Linked DNA regions of Homo sapiens: all the other regions are linked to region 3. The links are contacts of gene promoters, found by promoter capture Hi-C in human tissues and cell types (Jung and others, 2019). All regions are on one chromosome and are shown on one strand. Each heading gives the region's core, a stretch centred on a gene start or on the middle of the fragment in contact. The rest is flanking DNA. Distances are from core to core; before and after follow the strand shown. Region 1 overlaps LOC107986933 (a long non-coding RNA gene). Region 2 overlaps PPP2R2A (protein phosphatase 2 regulatory subunit Balpha). Region 3 holds the start of EBF2 (EBF transcription factor 2). Region 4 overlaps LOC107986933 (a long non-coding RNA gene). Region 5 overlaps LOC107986933 (a long non-coding RNA gene). Region 6 overlaps LOC107986933 (a long non-coding RNA gene).

Region 1 (3,663 bases), core at 439-2,938, 300 kb after region 3:
GAACTTAAAAACTGAAAAAGAAAACATTTCCTTATTCTAACATAGAGGTGGGCAATGTCCTTTCTCAGCCACCAATCTGAGCAGTGTGCGGTGGGCTGTCCCACTACCATGGCTACCAAAGGGCAGGAACAAGCCAGTTAATGGGATGGATATGGGTGTGAAGGCAGAGCTGAGTGGGTAAGGGGAGTGCAGGCCAAGATCAGATAGAGTCAATCACCATGAGATGCCAAGTACACACCGGAGCAACTAGGAGAAACAGATTCTAAGACCCAACCCAAAATCTGAACTGCTAGAAAGAGGCAAGGAAACAAGACTTCAACATTCAGGCTGTTGCCTGGCTGACCCTTTGTTCCCATTGAGAGAGAACATCCTGACCCAGCATCCCACTCACCCTGGGAGCTAAACTATTAGCAGTTGATTTATTTCCAGTCTTAATGTAAAGTATATGGAAATGGAGCTGGAGTAGGAGTTGAGAAAGAATATTGTTTATTAAGCAATGACCCAACACCATGCATTGAAAGAGCAGTGACTATTTAAAAATTACCCCAAGGCTTGCCTATGTTGGTGTGTTTTCCCTTTGCATTCCTGGGGCCTTGCAAAAAAGAGTAGAAGAAATGTAAACAATTACAGGTGCTTTATGAATATTGAAGCAAAACAAAATCAGCTAGAGGTGGGGTGAGGGAGGAAGGACTTTAAATTTAAGACACTGTTATTTAGAAAGTTTTTGAAATAAAAAATTTAACTTCTTCCAGGTTCATAAGTCTGTCTATCAGAAGCAAAGGTATTTTGAGCTTCCAAAGTCTCACTGAGGGTCCTTCCTGGAGCCCTGGGTGGGTACCCTTTGTACTTTGAGCTTTCCCACCATTTCCCTTATTTCTTGTCTAGAGGAATTTGAAGTGGTAACATAAAACCCAGAGAAAGAAACCAGTTTTTAATATGCAAACCACCGAGACTAAATCTGGGCCTATGAGCCTCTGAGGCTTCATAAAAGGGAGGATAACGTCAGCTTAGGCCTTACCTCAAACCACAAGACATTTACTTTCTGATTTATGGTCTAGGCTGGACCAGTATAAGTTATCAAGAAGGATCATGTTCCATCGCTATTTTTTAAAATGTAAAATAAAAGTAAGAGGACTGAACTTGCTCAGTTCCTTCCTTTTTGGTTAATGGAATTGCTCATGGAGGTGGGGAGGCAGTTAGACGCCAAAGCAATCCTTTAGAACAACCTGGGTTTCCTTCTCAGATTTGCCATAAGTTGACCAAAGGATCACAGTCAGGTTTCTCTTACTCTCTGGGAGTCTCACCTTCAGCCTCAGTCACGAGGTGACTGTGCCCTGTACTCTGCACTTGGCGGAGTCCTTTCTGGCCCTTGTCCTGTGGAGGAGTCCCCAGAGCCAAGGTGACATGCCTACTCTCCATGGGAATTCCTTTCCCAAATGGCCCCTCATTCACTTCCAGGGCATGTACAGCCTCTGACCCATGACTGTCCTCCCAAGTGGTAACTGACTCACCAATGCCCTTATCCTTTCCCCAAGGGGTGGTCAAAGGGCAGTTATTTGCAGAGCATGTGAATGGAGCTTGGCCATGTGGCTATCATGTTAATGTGTCTGTATATGTGCAAACAGGGTGCCACAAAGACCAGAAATATCTGGGGGAAGGTAAGGAGATAAGAGAGCCAAGTTGGTGGCTGAGGGTTGGTTCTTCCAGGGCTGCCAAGAAATCCCAGAACTCTAAAATGCAACCTAGCCTTCCAAATCTGCTAGGGCAAATTTTGTTTAATATTTTTAAAGCTTGGGTTATAAATTGTAACTATTTAGACATATGTGGGCCACCACTTTTATCTTTGTTTTGGGCACCACAAATATGGAAATAGGGCATGTCTCCAGAACACTTCCCTTTTTCCTTGATCATAAACATCCTGACTGTCACAAACAATGGGGTTTTGAAGGTATTTAGAAACCTCCAGAACCTCAAACCATTTTTATTTCTCTCCTTTCAAGTTTCAAGTGGTTACAAAAGGCAGTTCAGAATTTGTTCCTGTTGATGACTAACTCATGGATTACAAAAAGCTACAGAATGTATAGCAAACTGTGAATTCTCTGTAGTGGTATGTTTTAAAAATTCAATATAATTTATTAATTTTTCACATTCATATTACATATTTTGCTTCTATGCCCATGCAGGCAGAAGATCATAAGTAATTGTTTTTCATTTATACAACAGAACTCCATTGGGTTTCCATAATGGGGCCTGTAATGCTATATGGTATAGATATACACAACTAACTAAAAAACAATGTCATAACAGCTGTTAAAAGAAGTGTGTCTTCAGTATCATGGAAGAAGAACGTTAAACTACTCAGTTAAAAGTAGCTACCAAGAGGTGGCTCACTGAATCTCAGGACTGGAGAATATGTTTAATCCCAGCACTAGCACAATAAATAAAACATTTATTTTTGTGATCACACCACCGTGAAGTTTTAGAACACTGGGAAAAACAGAAGATCTTAAAAGCTTCTAAAAAGAAAAATCAGGAGTATTCACGGGCCAGAATGGCCCTGGACATTTTAACACTAAGACTGGAGGAATGCCATCAAAATAATAAGGAAAAATTTTTTCCAACCTAAACTCTATAACTGATCAAACTATTAACTCAGGATAAAGATAAGCTGAATATGTTTTCAGATATGTAAGTTCTCAACATATACACGTTTACTGAAGGGTACTAGAAAAGTTGCTCCGTTTTTAAAACAAGAAGATCAGCTAATAAAGATGTAGACACTGGGCTTACGTAATGAGGAATTCAATATGAGAGAGGTGTTATATAATAAAAGAAACCCCTAGAATACAACAAAGAATAGCCCCAGGAAGGCAGCTAACAATAGGCTTGCAACCAACGGTCAGGAACTAACTAAATAGAGAAGAAGGTTTCTGCAGTAATGTTTCCAAGTAGATACAATTGCTAAAAATACTTAATGCATTGAGACATATTGAAAGAGAATTTGAGGCTGAATCAGAGATAAGACCATAGAAAACGCAGTACATCAACAAAACAAAACACTTAGTAAATCTAGGGAAAACAAATGCTTGTTCAAGAAAGGAAAAAATAATAGTATTCTATGTGGCTCAGCTGTGAACAGTATTTATGTACTCAATTTAAGCACTGATGATAGATCTAGCCAAAATATATATTTATTTTGGGAGAATGGAAACATGAATAACTGTGCATGCTTTTGCTACTAGTAGAGTGATGGGGATGAAATGGCTAAGATCTCATCTTCCTTAATGGGTAGGTCATATAATGCCTAAAACTAAGAAGTCAAGAAATGGCACTATGGGTAGCTATTTAGATATATGGAGCTAAATATCACAAAAAATAAAAATTCAGTTGTAAGTGGTTGCCTCTGGGGAAGAGGACATCAGTGACAAAAGGAAGCAGATGTATGGACTATGTGTTGTACAATAAGTCTGTAGAGGAGGAAATTATTATCCTAATTTTGTAGAGGAAGACATTCAGGCTTAGGGATGACAAGAATGTGGCTGAAGTGAAACTTGAGTCCAGCTCTCCTAACTCAAGGTCCTTTCCTTGTGTCATGGCTGATTTCTAAAACGGCTCTCTGAGCCTGAGAATATTTTATAAATTCAAGATTGCCTTACTCCTAGG
Region 2 (3,372 bases), core at 59-2,558, 270 kb before region 3:
CAGGGTGTTTTAGAGCCTCCGTGTGCCTGACACCATCCCTTCAGATGTTCCCAAACTCCATCCCTCCCTGCTATGAGAAACTGACACCAATAGTGAAGGGTGCTTTGGACCCTCCTGCATGTTCTAGGTGCACCCCACCCCACCCAATTATATTACTCTTGAGGGAAGATGCAGAATATATAATTATAGGGAAGAATAAAACACTGGAGGAACTGGAGAAAAAAGGGAAAACAAGAGAGAAAAAAAGAAGCTTGAATTTCTGTTGTCACACATTATTTTTCGTTCATTGTTTCAGAGACAGGGTCATGCTACGTTGCCCAGACTGGAGTGCAGTGGTTGTTCACAGGCATGATCACTGTGCACAACAGCTTTGAACTCGTGGCTTCAAGTGCTCCTCTCACCTCAGCCTCCCAATTAACTGGGATTACATGCTTGCACCACCGTGCCCGGCTCAGCACAATAATTTTAAATTAGTCAAATTAATAGTCAAAGTGCCAGACCCTAAACTAATCCCAATTCTGATGAAGCTGGGAAACTAATCTCTCCCTAGTTTTACCAAATGCCTAACTCAACCAAGCTGAAATGTTAGTCATTAATGTAACGTATATTTATTGGAAGTGCCTAAAATGTGCCCAAAACCTCAAAAACTAGTTGATCTCAATTTGTGGACCGGAATAGGCTTTTATTCTTCTGCTATCAACTGTTAATTCTGTTAATTGGGTATCAGATAGAAAAATAACTACATCAATTAAATGTTCTGAGGCTTACTATGTGCCAAAACTAAGCATTCATGTATATTTAATCCTCTAAATAAAAAGACAAGTACTATTATTCCCATTTACAGATAAGAAAACTAAAACACAGCAATTCTCAAATGTTTGTTTCCTTACTCTCTGGTTTCCTTTGCTTGAACAAAAAAGAAAAAAGAAAAAGGAAAAAAATCCACTTCATTTAGGAAGTCTTTCCCATGTAATACAGACCCAAATTATTTCTTTGAGCTTCCCTCCAACATTCCTCCACTACAATGTATGATTCAGAAGGGGAAAAGGGCTGTGATACTACAAATAAATTTAAAAAAGCATCACCAAAGAAAACTAGACAAAGAACACAAAAAGGCTCCAACATTTGAACGTGCTCAAACAAATAACTGGAAAAGATTTTTCTGAATGGTGAATATTGTGCCAGGTATTGTCAAGAGGTCAGGAAATGGCCACTCCCATTCACTATTGGAGGAAGTGAAAAATCAACACCAACTTTCTATGGTGATTTGGCAATAAATACCATAAGCCATTAAAAAAAAAAAAAGGAAAAAAAAAATCACACCTTTCGACCCAGCAATCCCATTTCCAGATAATATATCCTAAAGCAATAAGATTCTCACAAGGATGTTCATCATGATCTTTACAATAGCAAACATTATAAACAATCTAAATGTCTAAATGAAATACATTAGAGATCCAATTAAATATCATACAGCCATTTATCTTCTCATATATGTTAACTGGAAAAAAACATAATACAAAACTGTACGTCTGATAACAGTTTTGAAAATACATATTTGCTGTGGAAAAAGAACTATATGCTGGAAAGATCTATGCCCAAATATTAACAGATATAATATAAAAATTGCGAGATTATACAGGCATACTTTTATTGTGCTTCATAGACACTGTGTTTTTTTTTTTTTTTTTTTGAGAGGGAGTCTTGCTCAGTCGCCCAGGCTGTAGTGCAGTGGTGTGATCTCGGCTCACTGCAACCTCCGCCTCCCGGGTTCAAATGATTCTCCTGCCTCAGCCTCCCGAGTAGCTGGGACTACAGGCGTACGCCACCACACCCAGCTAATTTTTGTATTTTTAGTAGAGGCGGGATTTCATCATGTTGGCCAAGATGGTCTAGATATCTTGACCTCGTGATCCGCCCGCCTCAGCCTCCCAAAGTGCTAGGATTACAGGGGTGAGCCACCACGCCTGGCCGAATGGCACCATTTTTCCAACATGTGCTAGCTTTGTGTCTCTGTGTCACACTTTGGTAATTCTTGCAAAACTTCAATTTTTCCATCATTATACCTGTTATGGTCATCTGTGACCAATGATCTTTGATATTACTATTGTAATTGTTTTGGAATGCCATGAAGCACCTCCATAAGACAGCAAATGTAATTCTTAAAAATGCTGCGTGTTCTGACTGCTCCACCTACTGGCAGTTCCCCTCTCTCTCTCCCTCCTTGGGCCTCCTGGAGACACAATACTGAAATTAGGACAATTACCCTATGGGCCTCTTAAGTGTTCAAGTGAAAGGAAGATAATTTAATTGATAAAGGTGACTACACTAAACAACAGATTTTCAAAGTCAACTAAACAGCTCTGTATTAACAGCCCTGTATTCAAAGAAGATACCACCTAGGACTCTCATAGCTGGAAAGGAGAAGCTGATGCCTGGCTTCAAAGCTTCAAAGAACAGGCTCTTTTGTTAGGGGCTAATGCAGCTGGGTGACTTTAAGTTGAGGCCAATGCTCATTGACCATTCTGAATTCTAGGGCCCAAATCTACTCTGCCTGTACTCTAGAAAAAAGCCTAGCTGAGAGCACATCTGTTTATAGCACTGTTTACTAAACATTTTAAGCCCACTGTTGAGACCTACTGCTTAGAAAAAAGACTCATTTCCAAATATTGCTGCTCATCCAAGAACTCTGATAGAGAGGGACAAGGAGATGTTGTTTACATGCCTGCTAACACAATATTCATTCTGTAGCCCATGGATCAAGGCGTGATTCTGACTTACAAGACAATTGTTAGCATTATTAAAGAAATATAGGCTGCGCATGGTGGCTCACTCCTGTAATCCCAGCACTTTGGGAGGCCAAGGTGAGTGGATCATTTGAGCCCATGAGCTCAAGCCCAGCCTGGACAACACATTGAAACCCCAACTCTACAAAAAGTAGAAATATGAGCCAGGTGTAGTGGCGCACACCTGAAGCCCCAACCACTTGGAAGGCTGAGGCAGGAGAATCACCTGAGCCCAGGAAGTCAAGGCTGCAGTGAGCCATGATCACACCACTGCACTGCAGCCTGGGCAACAGAGACCCTATCTCAAAAAAAGTATATATATATATATATTTTGTAAGGCTGTAACTGACATAGACAGTGATTCCGCTTAAAGATCTGGGCAAAGTCAACTGAAAACCTCCTGGAAAGAATTCAACATTCTAGATGCCATTAAGAACATCCATGATTCATGGGAGGATGTCAAAATATCAACATTGACAAGAGTCTGAAAGGAGCTGATTCCAGTACTCACGGATAACTCCGAGGGGCTCAAGACTTCCATGTAGGAAGTAACTGCAGAAGTAGTGGAAATAGCGAGAGAACTAGA
Region 3 (3,594 bases), core at 955-3,454:
CGAGAAAAGCTGGTGCCCTCGACCCTGACTTTGCCCTTTAACCCCAGCCAACCTGAGCCTGAGGGGTAAACTGTTGGGGCTTGGCCCAGGCCCACTGCTGACCAGAGGCCTCTCCGGGTGCCCTGCGCACCTTTCCGGGGCAACGTGGAGGTACAGCTGATCAAAGCCCCCTTGAAAAAAAAATCACCGGGCTCATAGGCATGTCTTGAAGGGCTCACGGCTGTTCCACACTCTCTGCCAAGGAACTCAAGGCTTTGGCCCCGCTGGGCGCAGACCCCAGACGAAGGGGGTGGGGGGGAGTTGCTTGAGGTTCGGAGAGATTTATAAAGAGAGACCGTAGAAGACTCCAGGTGATCAGTTTTTGCTGGGACCGAAATTCTCCGTAAAACCTGCATGTAACAGAGAATTGCCGAGTTGAAACAGGGCAGTGAATCTCATCCCTACAAATTTCCCTCCCTACCCCCTTCTTCCTTTGGACACTCCTGTCTTACTTGGCTTTTACTAGCCACCCGATCCATTTCCCAATCGCCCTGTATGGCTCTCCCGCCCCTTCCAGTCCAACAGGGAGGACCAAGCCAGAGCTCTGGGGTCGGGGTACCACAGTCAACACAACCCAGAGGCGGGGGGTTTACCTTCTCTACCTTCCCCCAAATCAATGACCCCAGTCCCTGGATCCCGGGGCCTGTGCAGAGACGGTCCGTGCACCCGCCCCGCAAACTCCCTAACCCCCTATCCGTTTTCAAGCGAATCTCCGCAGTTCGGACCAGCACTTCCTAGTCGCAATCCCGCGCACGCAGCGTGGTGCCGCGGTTTGTCCCTTGGGGAGGTGGAGGCGCGCACCGGTCCCTTTCTCGAGAGAGCCGAGTTTTCTTGAAGTGCAAGCTTCCTGTCAGCCTAGGCAAACCAGTTGCAAGGCGCTGTGTCCTCTAGCGGCAAACTCTAGCAGTTCATTTGCGAGCGCTCACCTACACCTAAGGGATCTGGTCTCTCAAATCTGAGACCCAAGAGGGGAGAAAGTGCCCTGAACGCAGTCCAGGCGCTCGCAAATGCCCTCCCCGTAATGAGACCGGGAGACTGGGGCGCAATCGCTCGAACTACGAACAGCTGATTGTCTCCTCCACGGCAGATGGTCTTTGAGCACAGATTTGCATTCATTGTCTTCAAATCTGTTTTCGCGCTGGTGTTCTAGATTTCAGCAGCAGCAGATCTATGCGCAGATCAGAATACAAAAGGAGAAGCAAGAAAATGACACCCAGCCAGGAGGATGTTTAATAGGCACCGCGAGCAGCCCCGCGCAGTTAAAAAACCGTCTAGGGTTTCAGCTGTTCGGTGAGGCTGCTGCCACCGCCTGCCGGCCACCAGCCCGCGGCCAGCACCGCGGCGACCGCGCGCGGTGGGCGAAGTTTCCACGACTCCCCCGTCCCTCCCCGCCCACTACCGGGGGCTTCGGGAACGGAGAGGTGGGGAGGGAACCGGAGGACCCGCGGGAATACTCCCCGGCCGCTCGCGCACTCAGCCCGCCTCGATCTGTCAGCAACCTCTCCTCCACACGGGTGCGACTGCCGCTCGCGCCCGCCCGCCCGCGGGTGTTTTCCTTAGGTCCTGGACCGTTTTCCCCAGCACTGTATTTGAGCAGCACTTGCCCCTCGCTTGTCCGCCCCACCCCATCCCCCGCCTTCTTTCATATGTTCTCCACTCTCAGCAACGTGCAAGCCGCACACAACATCTGATATCACCATGGAACTCCAGGAGACCTGGGGAGCCATTCAGGGAGCTGGGTGCTCTGGGGGACGTTTGCGCAAAACATAAGCACATGTGGCCACGCTCACAAGCATGCACACAGATCCGAACCCCGGGAACGAACGTGCCTCCCGGCAGGCTACAAAAGCCTACATCTAGAGGCAGGATCCAGGGAGGCTTCCCGCAGCCAGGCCGAACCCCTGCGTCCCCAGCCCGCAGAGACCTGCTACCCTAAGTCAGTGCAGGGTGTGGGGGCCCCCCAATCCTGCGCAAGCACACGGGGTTCGTGCTAGGACTCGACGCCCGCAGCTTTCTGTCCCCTTTCACCTCCCGGAGTCCCGGCAACGCAGAGCGTGGCGCGCGCCGCCGGAGGACGTCGGCCCGGCTTGCCAGGCGCCGGCCAATCCCGCGCGTCCATGCAAATGAGGCTCCTTATCGGGCCGCAGCTCCGCCTCCCGCAGCCAGGGCCGTAGTAACCCATTCATGGGGCCCGCGCGCGGCTGCAGCCGGGCTCCGTGGCGCTCGCAGCCACCGCCTCCTCTCGGCTCCAGGTCTTCCCCTTCTTTTTACAACTGATCCTGTTGGGGATTTTTTTTTTTTCTAAATTGGAACGGTGGGGAGGAGCAGGGAGGGGGGACCTGGAGGAAGGGGAGAGATTAGGCAGCCATCAATTTCCTCCAGTTTCTCCCAGAACAGGTGATGCTTCTAAATTGTGATCACTTTCAGGAGGCAGCACTGCAGCTGGAAGGATGCGAGCGACCTAGGGTGGAGTGGCTGAGGCGGCAGATCTGAACTTGCGGAGGATAAGAACCCAAACTTTGACTACATCAGTCCGCACCTCGCCAGTGAAGCAAAGGACGGGTTATCTTTTTTTTTTTTCTAAGACTCAAACTTGGGCACTTGATCCCTTTTCTTGGATTGCTTTGGAGGAGACGATTTGCTGGCAACGTTGGGAACAGTCAGGACTGTGTTGTAACTCTTACTTTTAAAGCGACAGTAGAGGATCAGACTTTTTAAATGTTTGGAATTCAAGATACTTTAGGAAGAGGACCAACTCTGAAAGAGAAATCGCTGGGCGCGGAGATGGATTCGGTCAGGTCCTGGGTCCGGAATGTCGGAGTGGTGGACGCTAATGTCGCCGCGCAGAGGTAACGACACGGCCGCGCAATTATTATGCTGTCTCTCGCTCTTACGGTCTGTCTCTCCGTGTGCACCCCCCCCGCGCACCCCGTGCCTTTCTCTCTCCCTGTCCCCCCATCTGTCGCCCAGGCCCTGCGCGCTGGGGCTCGCCCTCGGGCAAGCAGATCGCTGCAGTCAGGCGAACGCTCACCCGGCAGCCGGCACTCGAGTTCCTGAACTGCCTGGGTCGTAGGCGTTTCTCTCCCTCTCCTTTACCACAGTCCACTCTTTGCAAGGAAAAATAAAGTAGCCCCCAACATCTCCCAGCTCAGCCCCTAGTCCTGCAAGCCGAGCCGGCCTGGCCCCGAACGGAGCGTGAACACCGGCGCTGGCAGTGGCGGCGCGGGAGGAAAGCCGGCTTCCTGGCCACTCTTGGCTTCGCCACGCCGCCTGCGAGCGCCTACCTCCCGCATCTTGCTGGGCGATTCCTGGAGCCTGGGAGGCCGGCGGCCAGAGGGTGGCGGCGGCGAGGGGAGCGGGAAAAGCCGGAGCGGCTGCCCGGGAAGACGAGGCGGCCGGGAGCTCTGGGAGGGGGGACAGGCTGGAGGGTCCCGGCTCAAAGATAAAACAGTGAGCCAGACGAACGGAGCTAGGGAACTGGAGAAAAGAAGAGATTTAAAAGAAGAGAAAATACTGAGTCACAGTAGAAAGAGTTGCGGAAGAAGAAAGAGGCGA
Region 4 (3,441 bases), core at 141-2,640, 360 kb after region 3:
AAGCAAGTCAGATGGTCATGCCTAACCCAAGGGCATGGCAATATACAACCCTCCAGGTTCCAGGAGGGAGCAGAGAACCAGAAATATGGGGGAGATGCACTGTTTATCTGCCACACTGCTGAAAGGCTGTCCTCTCATCCACAAGTGCAGGGAGAAGCCTCATTGTCGACCGGACTGTTCATCTAAGAGTCAAGATGAGAGTCTGAGGCCCTTCTTGGCCATTTCTTAGCTATGTGGCATCATGGAAGTTGCTTGGCCTTGCTGAGGCTGCGTTTGCTTATCAATGGAATGAGAAAAAAGCTGATTCTGCCAACCTCACAGGGTCATTGTGGTGGAAAATTCAAAGTAGGCAATGAATGGGAGTGTTTCTCCACAAAAATGTGTTACTCTTAAGTGGTAGTTTTTCAAGTCATGTTTTCCCTCGTGTGGAAGGCAACGAATAAAAACAAACAACAAAATCCTAACCAGTTTCAGGCATCCTGAGTTCATATCCTCGGTCTCCCCTCTCTAATAAAGTCATTTGATCTCTGTGAGCCTCAGTTTACCCATCTATCAAATGGGTGGTGATGTTGGTCCCACATATCCCTATATGAGACATTGAATGCAAAAGCACTGTATAAACTGTAACAATCTCTACAAATGCAGAGAATCTTTATCCTCCCTTCCTTCTTGTACCCGGGATCTCTCCCCTTCTATTCACCTTGCAGTCTTTCAACTTCTCAACAAGGTCTCCAACCCTTCAAAGGGCCTTTATTCAGGCTTAATCCCTCTCCCTCACACATGTGCTTAACTTTCCACAGCATCTCTTCTTTGTTGACCATCAGACGTGCTGAAAATAAGGCTACACCCATGCCTGGTCTCCATTCCTACCTTCCACTGACTCTCCAGACACTTCCTATTTAGCTTCTGCCCTATTTGTGAAGAGTGCTTTCTAAAGGTTGCAGAATCTCTCCATTAAGTTTCTGTGAGTTTTACATGTCCTTGACCTATCTGCAACATTTGACAGCAGGGACCACCATCAAGCCCCACCTAATCTGACTCATTCTACATCCTATCAGCTCTATTCAGGTCCTGCTGGTTGTCTCTACAACACGTCTCTGTCTTATTAATTCATTCACTGAGACTTTGCTCATGCCCATCTTGGACTTTCCTCACTAGCCCACTTGATGTTTTAATGTTTCCATTTGTTATTGGCTTTATTCCTGAAACAGCTGTCATCCATCTCTTCCTCTCCATCCTCATTGCTCCTGCCCTGCCCAAGCCCCCAGTCATTTCTGGTGTGAACTTGCTCCCGTAGTTACCTGACTGGTTGTTCTTCATTCTGCTATGAAATGAGAGTGTAATATTTTATCTATCTACCATCAAGGCTTATTGTAAGAAGAAAATTGATCTGTGAATTTAAAGAAAATAAACTATATTTATTAAATATAGTTCCTTTCCTTCTCCCTGATTAAAACACTGTCTAGTTTCCTTTCCAGGATTTGATTGGTTACCATTCACCTGTGAAAAAAAAAAAAAAAAAAAAAAAAAAAACCCTTTCAAGCTTCTCTGTTTTCTTCAAACTCTGGTCCAAATATCTCTTTCCAGCCTCATATTTAGGGACTCTCACACCACTTCCTCATGTCTCTATCTATAAGAGACTATGCAGTGCTCCCCAAAAATGCCACCCACCTGTATCTAGATTGCACTCTTTCCTCCCTCTGGAATTTATTTCTTCTGTTCTCTGAGGGAAAAAAAAAAAAATCCTTTTGTCCCCTCCGCATCTCGATGTAAACATTAAATCCCGTACAAAGCTTTCTCCAACCCAAAGCTCCTACTCCCAGGAGCAAATCATTCCTCCTTAGCTGTATTTTCCTGCACTTGATCCCAATTTCTGTGGAAATGTAGCATTGGTCCCTTCTTACTAGAGTTACTGTGTGACTTGGAGAGTGAGAATAGAGCCAGGCTACCAATAAGGAGACAATTCACTAAAATGCATCACAGGAGGCAAGGGGGCCTGGAAACAGAAGAGCAAGGTAAATGAGATAAGAAGGCCACATTGAAGAGGAGCAGAAGAAAACAGGTCGACAGCTCAGGGGTAAATGGAGTATTTTCTGCTAGAAGGCTGGGGTCACGGGGGGAGCAAAATGGAAAGCGGAAAGGGATTAGTGAGAAAGGAATCTGCCAGTTGTGAATGAAGTGGTATTCATCCCTGATTTCTTGTCTGCCTATTAAATAATGTCATATGTGATTTTTGCTGTTAATTAAAGATCCTCTTATAACTAGAGTTTGCCAGCCCATGCCTGCGGGGAGGGGGTTAGACTGTCCATTGTAATGTAGATCATGCTAGATGGGCTTCATGAGCTAATGTAAGTGAAGTAAGATCCCTCCAGCCAAGGCTCCTGTGAGAGGGCAGATATGTGAGTTGAGACTGCTTTAGCCTGCAAGCTCCCATAAACAAACAGCAGCTGAAATGATAAGGGGTTTATTTCTCTCACAAAGCAATATCAGCATAGCAGTCCAGGGCTGGAGTGTGCACCGAGGAACCAAGCTCTCCCCTCTCTTTCTCTTCCAGCCTTGGAGAGGGCTGCCAAGCTCAAGCCCCACACTCACAACAGGGAGGAGGAAGAAAGAAGAAAAGAGGCCTCACTTCTGTGATGTTTCACCGACAACAACTGCAGCCAGAACACAGTCACTCCAGACTGCTGGGGAATTTGGAAGGCGTGTTCGGATCTTTCCAGACTTTATATCAGAGAAAAGCAAATGAAGAATACACTGGAAGTGTAAGCTACCCTACATCACTGCCACAGCTGGCTTGAGACAAATTCTAGGATTGCCTGTCTTTCCTCTATGTTCTGCATCCCCTGAATACAGGGGTACTGGTTTAGTAATCACAAAACAAAATAAGCAACACCAGAGACCCAGTGGTATGTATTAATGTTCAATTAAGTATTTGTTGAGTTAACATCTCCTTGAAGGAAGTTATGGGAATTAGTGCTCTATAGGTAAAAGTTCATGGCCAAGATGAGTCCCGCTGAACAGAGAATGTTCCTAAAAGCCACTGAGCAAAGCTACAGTGGAATCACTATTTCAGTGGGGATTTATTTCTACCTAAGCCTACTTCTAAAGAGATTGAGATCATATTGCATGATTAAAACAATCTATGAGCCATGCCAAGTAGAAAGACAAGTATCAAAGAGGGGGTATGTGTAGCTGCAGATTCTGGACATTAAAATAAATGTGATCATGGGAGAAGATGAAAAAAGTCAAATGCATACCAAGAAGTCATGTAATGGAGCTTGATGTGGGCATTAAGATTCTTTGACGGACTGTGGCCCAACTGAGGCCAAGCTGCTGGAGTCTCCCCATTAAAAACCTCCAGAGCCATAGGAAGTTACTGAACACCTAATTCTTTTTTGTGCATCTTCCCATTGGACCTTCCTCAGGGATTTAAGCAAGCAT
Region 5 (3,212 bases), core at 51-2,550, 390 kb after region 3:
ACAATAGTGAACAAAAGGCCGCAAACTCTCTGCTCTTATGAAGCTTATATTCTTGTGGTAGACACAGATGATGAACAAATACATTAGTAAAAAACAGAGTACAGTCATCCCTAAGTATCAGTGGAGGATCAGTTCCAGGAACCCCATGGATACCAAAGTCTGAAGATGCTCAAGTCCCTGATATAAAATGGCATAATTACACCTGAAATCCCCACACTTTGGGAGGCTGAGGCAGGCAGATCAGTTGAGCTCAGGAGTTCAAGACCAGTCTAAGCAACATGGCGAAACCCCGTCTGTACAAAAAATAATTTTAAAAATGGCATAGTGAGGCAGCCAAGATGGCTGAATAGGAAGAGCTCCAGTCTACAGCTCCCAGTGTGAGTGACGCAGAAGACGGGTGATTTCTGCATTTCCATCTGAGGTACCGGGTTCATCTCACTAGGGAGTGCCAGACAGTGGGTGCAGGACAGTGGGTGTAGTGTACCATGCGCGAGTCGAAGCAGGGTGAGGCACTGTCTCACTCAGGAAGCACAAGGGGTCAGGGAGTTCCCTTTCCTAGTCAAAGAAAGCAGTGACAGACGGCACCTGGAAAATCGGGTCACTCCCACCCTAATACTGCACTTTTCCGATGGGCTTAATAAATGCTGCACAAGGAGATTATATCCCGCACCTGGCTCAGAGGGTCCTACACCCACGGAGTCTCACTGATTGCTAGCACAGCAGTCTGAGATCAAACTGCAAGGCGGCAGCGAGGCTGGGGGAGGGGCACACGCCATTGCCCAGGCTTGCTTAGGTAAACAAAGCAGCCAGGAAGCTCAAACTGGGTGGAGCCAACCACAGCTCAAGGAGGCCTGCCTGTCTCTGTAGGCTCCACCTCTTGGGGAAGGGCACAGACAAACAAAAAGAAAGCAGTAACCTCTGCAGACTTAAATGTCCCTGTCTGACAGATTTGAAGAGAGCAGTGGTTCTCCCAGCATGCAGCTGGAGATCTGAGAACAGGCAGACTGCCTCTGCAAATGGGTTCCTGACCCCTGACCCCCGAGGAGCCTAACTGGGAGGCACCCCCCAGTAGGGGCAGACTGACACCTCACACGGCAGGGTATTCCAACAGTCCTGTAGCTGAGGGTCCTGTCCATTAGAAGGAAAACTAACAAACAGAAAGGACATCCACACCAAAAACCCATCTGTACATCACCATCATCAAAGACCAAAAGTAGATAAAACCACAAAGATGGGGAAAAAACAGAGCAGAAAAACTGGAAACTCTAAAAAGCAGAGCGCCTCTCCTCCTCCAAAGGAATGCAGTTCCTCACCAGCAATGGAACAAAGCTGGACGGAGAATGACTTTGATGAGGTGAGAGAAGAAGGCTTCAAACGATCAAACTACTCCAAGCTACAGGAGGAAATTCAAACCAAAGGCAAAGAAGTTAAAAACTTTGAAAAAAATTTAGATGAATATAACTAGAATAACCAATATAGAGAAGTGCTTAAAGGAGCTGATGGAGCTGAAAGCCAAGGCTCGAGAAGTACGTGAAGAATGCAGAAGCCTCAGGAGCCGATGTGATCAATTGGAAGAATGGGTATCTGTGATGGAAGATGAAATGAATCAAATGAAACAAGAAGGGAAGTTTAGAGAAAAAAGAATAAAAAGAAATGAACAAAGCCTCCAGGAATTATGGGACTATGTGAAAAGACCAAATCTACGTCTGATTGGTGTACCTGAAAGTGATGGGGAGAATGGAACCAAGTTGGAAAACACTCTGCAGGATATTACCAGGAGAACTTCCCCAATCTAGCAAGGCAGGCCAACATTCAGATTCAGGAAATACAGAGAATGCCACAAAGATACTCCTCAAGAAGAGCAACTCCAAGATACATAATTGTCAGATTCACCAAAGTTGAAATGAAGGAAAAAATGTTAAGGGCAGCCAGAGAGAAAGGTTGGGTTACCCACAAAGGGAAGCCCATCAGATTAACAGCGGATCTCTTGGCAGAAACTCTACAAGCCAGAAGAGAGTGGGGGCCAATATTCAACGTTCTTAAAGAAAAGGATTTTCAACCCAGAATTTCATATCCAGCCAAACTAAGCTTCATAAGTGAAGGAGAAATAAAATACTTTACAGACAAGCAAATGCTGAGAGATTTTGTCACCACCAGGCCTGCCCTAAAAGAGCTCCTGAAGGAAGCACTAAACATGGAAAGGAACAACAGGTACCAGCCACTGCAAAATCGTGCCAAATTGTAAAGACCATCGAGGCTAGGAAGAAACTGCATCAACTAACCAGCAAAATAACCAGCTAACATCATAATGACAGGATCAAATTCACACATAACAATATTAACCTTAAATGTAAATGGACTAAATGCTCCAATTAAAAGACACAGACTGACAAATTGGATAAAGAGTCAAGACCCATCAGTGTGCTGTATTCAGGAAACCCATCTCACGTGCAGAGACACACATAGGCTCAAAATAAAAGGATGGAGGAAGATCTACCAAGCAAATGGAAAACAAAAAAAGGCAGGGGTTGCAATCTTAGTCTCTGATAAAATAGACTTTAAACCAACAAAGATCAAAAGAGACAAAGAAGGCCACTGCATAATGATAAAGGGATCAATTCAACAAGAAGAGCTAACTATCCTAAATGTATAGGCACCCAATACAGGAGCACCCAGATTCATAAAGCAAGTCCTGAGTGACTTACAAAGAGACTTAGACTCCCACACAATAATAATGGGAGACTTTAACACCCCACTGTCAACATTAGACAGATCAATGAGACAGACCCAGGAATTGAACTCAGCTCTGCACCAAGTGGACCTAATAGACATCTACAGAACTCTCCACCCCAAATCAACAGAATACACATTTTTTTCAGCACCACACCACATCTATTCCAAAATTGACCACATAGTTGGAAGTAAAGCTCTCCTCAGCAAATGTAAAAGAACAGAAATTATAACAAACTGTCTCTCAGACCACAGTGCAATCAAACTGGAACTCAGGATTAAGCAACTCACTCAAAACCGCTCAACTACATGGAAACTGAACAACCTGCTCCTGAATGACTACTGGGTACATAACAAAATGAAGGCAGAAATAAAGATGTTCTTTGAAACCAACGAGAACAAAGACACAACATACCAGAATCTCTGGGACACATTCAAAGCAGTGTGTGGAGGGAAATTTATAGCACTAAATGCCCACAAGA
Region 6 (3,635 bases), core at 1,117-3,616, 410 kb after region 3:
GTAAAATGGGGCAGCCACTTTGGAAAGCAGTTTTGCAGTTCCTTTAAAAGCTAACTATTGATTTATCACATTATCTACCAATTTCATTTCTCTGTATCTATCCAGAGAACTTGAAAACATATGTCCACATAAAAACTCATACATGACTGTTCTTTATATCATCACTCATAATGTCAAAAAGTGGAAACACCCAAATGTTCATCAGCTGATGAATGGATATGACTTATGCATATAATTATTATTTGGCCATAAAAAGTAATGAAGTATGGATCCATGGTACGACATCAATGAATCTTGAAAACATTACATTAAGTGAAAGAAGCCAGTCACAACACTTACTGAATGATTCCATTTATGTGAAATGTCTAGAATAGACAAATCCACAGAGACAGAAAATAGATTAGTGGTTTCCAAGGGCAGAGGGGAAGGGAGAATGGGGAGTGACTGATAATGGCTCTGAGGTTTCTTTTGGGGATGATAAAAATATTAACATAAATTGTGGTGATGGTTGCCGCACCCTGTGAATACATTAAAATCCATTGACTTGTACACATCACATGGGTGAACTGTATAGTATGAAAATTATATCCCAATAAAGCTGTTTAAAATATTTTAAGGATAACTCCTAAAAGAGTAGAAATAAATTATCTGTATAACTTCTAAACCAATAGAGGTGAAGGAGGGACTAACAAAAGCTGTTCAGTCCAAGGAATGGTAGGAGAGAGAGGCGGGAGAAGCAAAGGAAAAGCAAAGCAAATAAAACATTTTAGAAGAAAGTAAAAATCAATGTTTAAAGAAAATTACAGCCGGGCACGGTAGCTCACGCCTATAATCCCGGCACTTTGGGAGGCTGACGTGGGCAGATCACTTGAGGTCCGGAGTTCGAGACCAGCCTAGCCAACATGGCAAAACCCCATCTCTACTAAAAATACAAAAATTAGCTGGGCATGGTGTGGGCGCCTGTAATCCCAGCTACGCAGGAGGCTGAGGCATGAGAATCACTTGAACCTAGGAGGCAGAGGTTGCAGTGAGCCGAGATCACACCACTGCACTCCAGCCTGGTGACAGAGCAAGAGACTCTGTCTCAGAAAAAAGAAAATTACAATAACTATGCTCAGTATGATAGCTATTTTAAGAAGTACATTATTATATATTGTTGGAGACATCTGTGAGTGGTAAAAGTATGAAAATATCCACTTAAAAACCCTTGGGGGCCAATCCCCGGTAGTATAGTGATTAGGAAAAACATATATATTGGGGGCCAGGCACAGTGGCACACTCCTATAATCCCAGCACTTTGGGAGGCCAAAGCTGGAGGATTGTTTGAGCCCAGGAGTTCAAGACCAGCCTGGGCAACATCGTGAGACCCTTTCTCTACAAAAGGAAGGAAAGAAAAGGAAAAAATGTTGGGTATTGGGGGAGGGAAGGAGATGAATGAGATGGGAAGGAAAGAGTGGGCTTCTGCTGTCCCTATCACACACACTTTATTTCTTTATTAAGATATGAAAAACACTATGGCAAATTGTCATATATATTAAATATAGGTAAATAAGCTCATAGGCATCTATTTTCTGTATCAATTTATATTTAAAATATTTCTTAATTAAAAGGCAATACAAATAGCATTGGCAAGAGTTCAGGGAAATGGTACTCCACCTCTGTTGGTAATAAGCCTGTATAAATTTGGAGAGGGAATTTTGACAATATGTACCCAAAGGTTTTTAAAGTGTTCACATACTTTGATGACGCAATAACGTTTCTAAAATTTAAAAAGAAAACACGTGCACAAAGATTTAACTACATAAATGTTTGCTATAGTTCCACACATATAGAAGCAAATATATACACATAGAAACGAAAATAGAATGTCTATTATTTGGACATCAGTAAAATATTCAGAAGTATTGCACAGTTAACATAAATCATTAATTAGGGATAGAAAAGGTCTTAGGCCTCTAAGAATCTGATAAGTTATGTGTCCCCTCCGGAGAAAGGCAGATGTACATAACGTAACATAACACAACATAACATAACATAACACACCAATTTGCAGACAATTTCAGTGGGTCCCAGAGTACTTAAATCTCACACCTTTTATTGTGGAAGGAAAACCAGCTAACTCACTCCTAATTCTCCTTCAGGAACCCCATCCTCTAGGCAGATTTTCCATACCCTGCCTTCTCCATCTTCCTCAGCCTGGGACAGGTACCCCTTCCTTAAGAACCTATGCAAATCTGTACCCTGAACGGCATATATCTTGTATCATGATTTTCTATTTATTTTCTGTCTTCATCAGTGTCTTTGAGAACCAGGTACACAACTCAATTGGCTTCACGTCCCAGGACAGCACAGATATAAATATTTGTTGGCCAGATTGAGGCAGGAGGTAGGACTTGACTCCAGAGGCAGAGCTCGGACACCTGACCAAATTGAGGATTAGCTAAAACAGGGATAAGGTGGAAGTGGTTTTCCATAAGACACACCTACCAGTGTGCCATGTGAGTTTACCATTGTCATGGCAACATCTGAGAGTTACTGCCCCTTTCCATGGCAATGACTTGACATCTAAAAGTTATTACCCCTTCCCTAAAAATTTCTGCATGTACTGCCCCTTAATCTGCATGTAACTAAAAGTAGGTATAAATATAACTGCAAAACTACCCTGAGCTGCTACCGTCAACACACTGCCAACGGGGCAGCCCTGCTGTGCAGGAAACAGTCATGGACTTGTAACGCTGCCACTTGAATAAAACTGTTTTCTTCTACCCTACCACTAGCTCACCCTTAAATTCTTTCCTGGGTGAAGCCAAGAAACCTCGTGGGCTAAGCCCCACTTTGGGGCTCACCTGCCCTGCATCAAGATGATCAAATGAATGTTCCTTAAGGAGAGCGACACGGCCATGTATTGCTTCTAGATAATGCTTCACATAGGGAAACATTTCTCATCTATTTCTTGATCCACAATCAGTATCAACCACCTCTCTAACCAGGTCATACACACACCCCAGCCTCTGCAGCTTGTCTTTTGAAACACACTGGATTCTAAATGCAGCCTTATCTGAAAGAATGAGACGTAACATTGGCTGCATATAAATTGCAAAGAGGAGCCAGAAAAGCAGGGCTGCAGCTTCCTGCACGGCTCAGCTGCCGCTCAGCTCGCACCCAGACTCAGCAGTAACTTAGTCAAATTAGCAGCAGCTTGTTTTCATTCCAGAGGACAAGCTTTCCAATCCTTTCTGAAGTTATTTCCCTTCCTCTCCCTTCCCGTTATTCCCTATTTTCATCAAGCAGAGCCCTTGAATGCGTTTCCCCGCCAGCTATTCAAGAGGCCGTTCCCCCTGGAGCTGGCGACACAGAACTTATTAACAAGCAAACAGAATGAACTGGCTCGCTCTCCTCATAGTGAAATTCCTCTGCCACCGATTTCTCAGACACTTCCCTTTAGGGTTTTCCTGCGGAGTCCCATTCATTTAGAGGAAATGTGGAAAACTGTTTAATGTTTCTTGTTGTAAGCAAATGCTGGTAAATGCCGATTACATGTGGAGAGTGAAATGCCTCTCTCTGACTTGGCTTCCAAGCCCATCTGGTGGGCCTGGCAAAGCGTGTTTGTCGCTCCCCACACATGCAACTGTCAT

What was found. The method cuts DNA at HindIII sites, captures the fragments that hold promoters and counts their contacts. A contact is called where the count stands out against the background at its distance.
Region 1: a contact is called between a fragment that was not itself captured here and the fragment with the promoter of EBF2 in region 3, in 2 of the 25 tissues and cell types used here (bladder and mesendoderm cells).
Region 2: a contact is called between a fragment that was not itself captured here and the fragment with the promoter of EBF2 in region 3, in 1 of the 25 tissues and cell types used here (bladder).
Region 4: a fragment that was not itself captured here is called in contact with the fragment with the promoter of EBF2 in region 3 in 2 of the 25 tissues and cell types used here (H1 embryonic stem cells and neural progenitor cells).
Region 5: a fragment that was not itself captured here is called in contact with the fragment with the promoter of EBF2 in region 3 in 1 of the 25 tissues and cell types used here (H1 embryonic stem cells).
Region 6: a contact is called between a fragment that was not itself captured here and the fragment with the promoter of EBF2 in region 3, in 2 of the 25 tissues and cell types used here (H1 embryonic stem cells and heart right ventricle).

The regions. Positions count from the first base shown.
Region 1 is chr8:25,743,084-25,746,746 of GRCh38, reverse strand. All of the region lies in intron 1 of LOC107986933 (a long non-coding RNA gene), which reads right to left. Among named protein-coding and RNA genes, the nearest start is that of CDCA2, 290 kb to the right of the region's middle. The HindIII fragment of the contact is 6,087 bases long and covers 1-3,663 here.
Region 2 is chr8:26,308,602-26,311,973 of GRCh38, reverse strand. The region is part of intron 2 of PPP2R2A (protein phosphatase 2 regulatory subunit Balpha); the gene reads right to left. Among named protein-coding and RNA genes, the nearest start is that of PPP2R2A, 19 kb to the right of the region's middle. The HindIII fragment of the contact is 4,201 bases long and covers 1-3,372 here.
Region 3 is chr8:26,044,023-26,047,616 of GRCh38, reverse strand. EBF2 (EBF transcription factor 2) reads left to right here and starts at 2,204. Exons shown (of 16, transcript NM_022659.4): 1 at 2,204-2,888. The coding sequence starts at 2,758. The HindIII fragment of the contact is 15,996 bases long and covers 1-3,594 here.
Region 4 is chr8:25,678,683-25,682,123 of GRCh38, reverse strand. All of the region lies in intron 1 of LOC107986933 (a long non-coding RNA gene), which reads right to left. All of the region lies in intron 2 of LOC105379333 (a long non-coding RNA gene), which reads right to left. Among named protein-coding and RNA genes, the nearest start is that of CDCA2, 220 kb to the right of the region's middle. RefSeq lists an enhancer at 2,017-2,590. The HindIII fragment of the contact is 3,399 bases long and covers 1-3,089 here.
Region 5 is chr8:25,658,064-25,661,275 of GRCh38, reverse strand. The region is part of intron 1 of LOC107986933 (a long non-coding RNA gene); the gene reads right to left. Among named protein-coding and RNA genes, the nearest start is that of CDCA2, 200 kb to the right of the region's middle. RefSeq lists an enhancer at 592-1,278. The HindIII fragment of the contact is 3,456 bases long and covers 1-3,028 here.
Region 6 is chr8:25,631,105-25,634,739 of GRCh38, reverse strand. The region is part of intron 1 of LOC107986933 (a long non-coding RNA gene); the gene reads right to left. Among named protein-coding and RNA genes, the nearest start is that of CDCA2, 170 kb to the right of the region's middle. The HindIII fragment of the contact is 3,835 bases long and covers 449-3,635 here.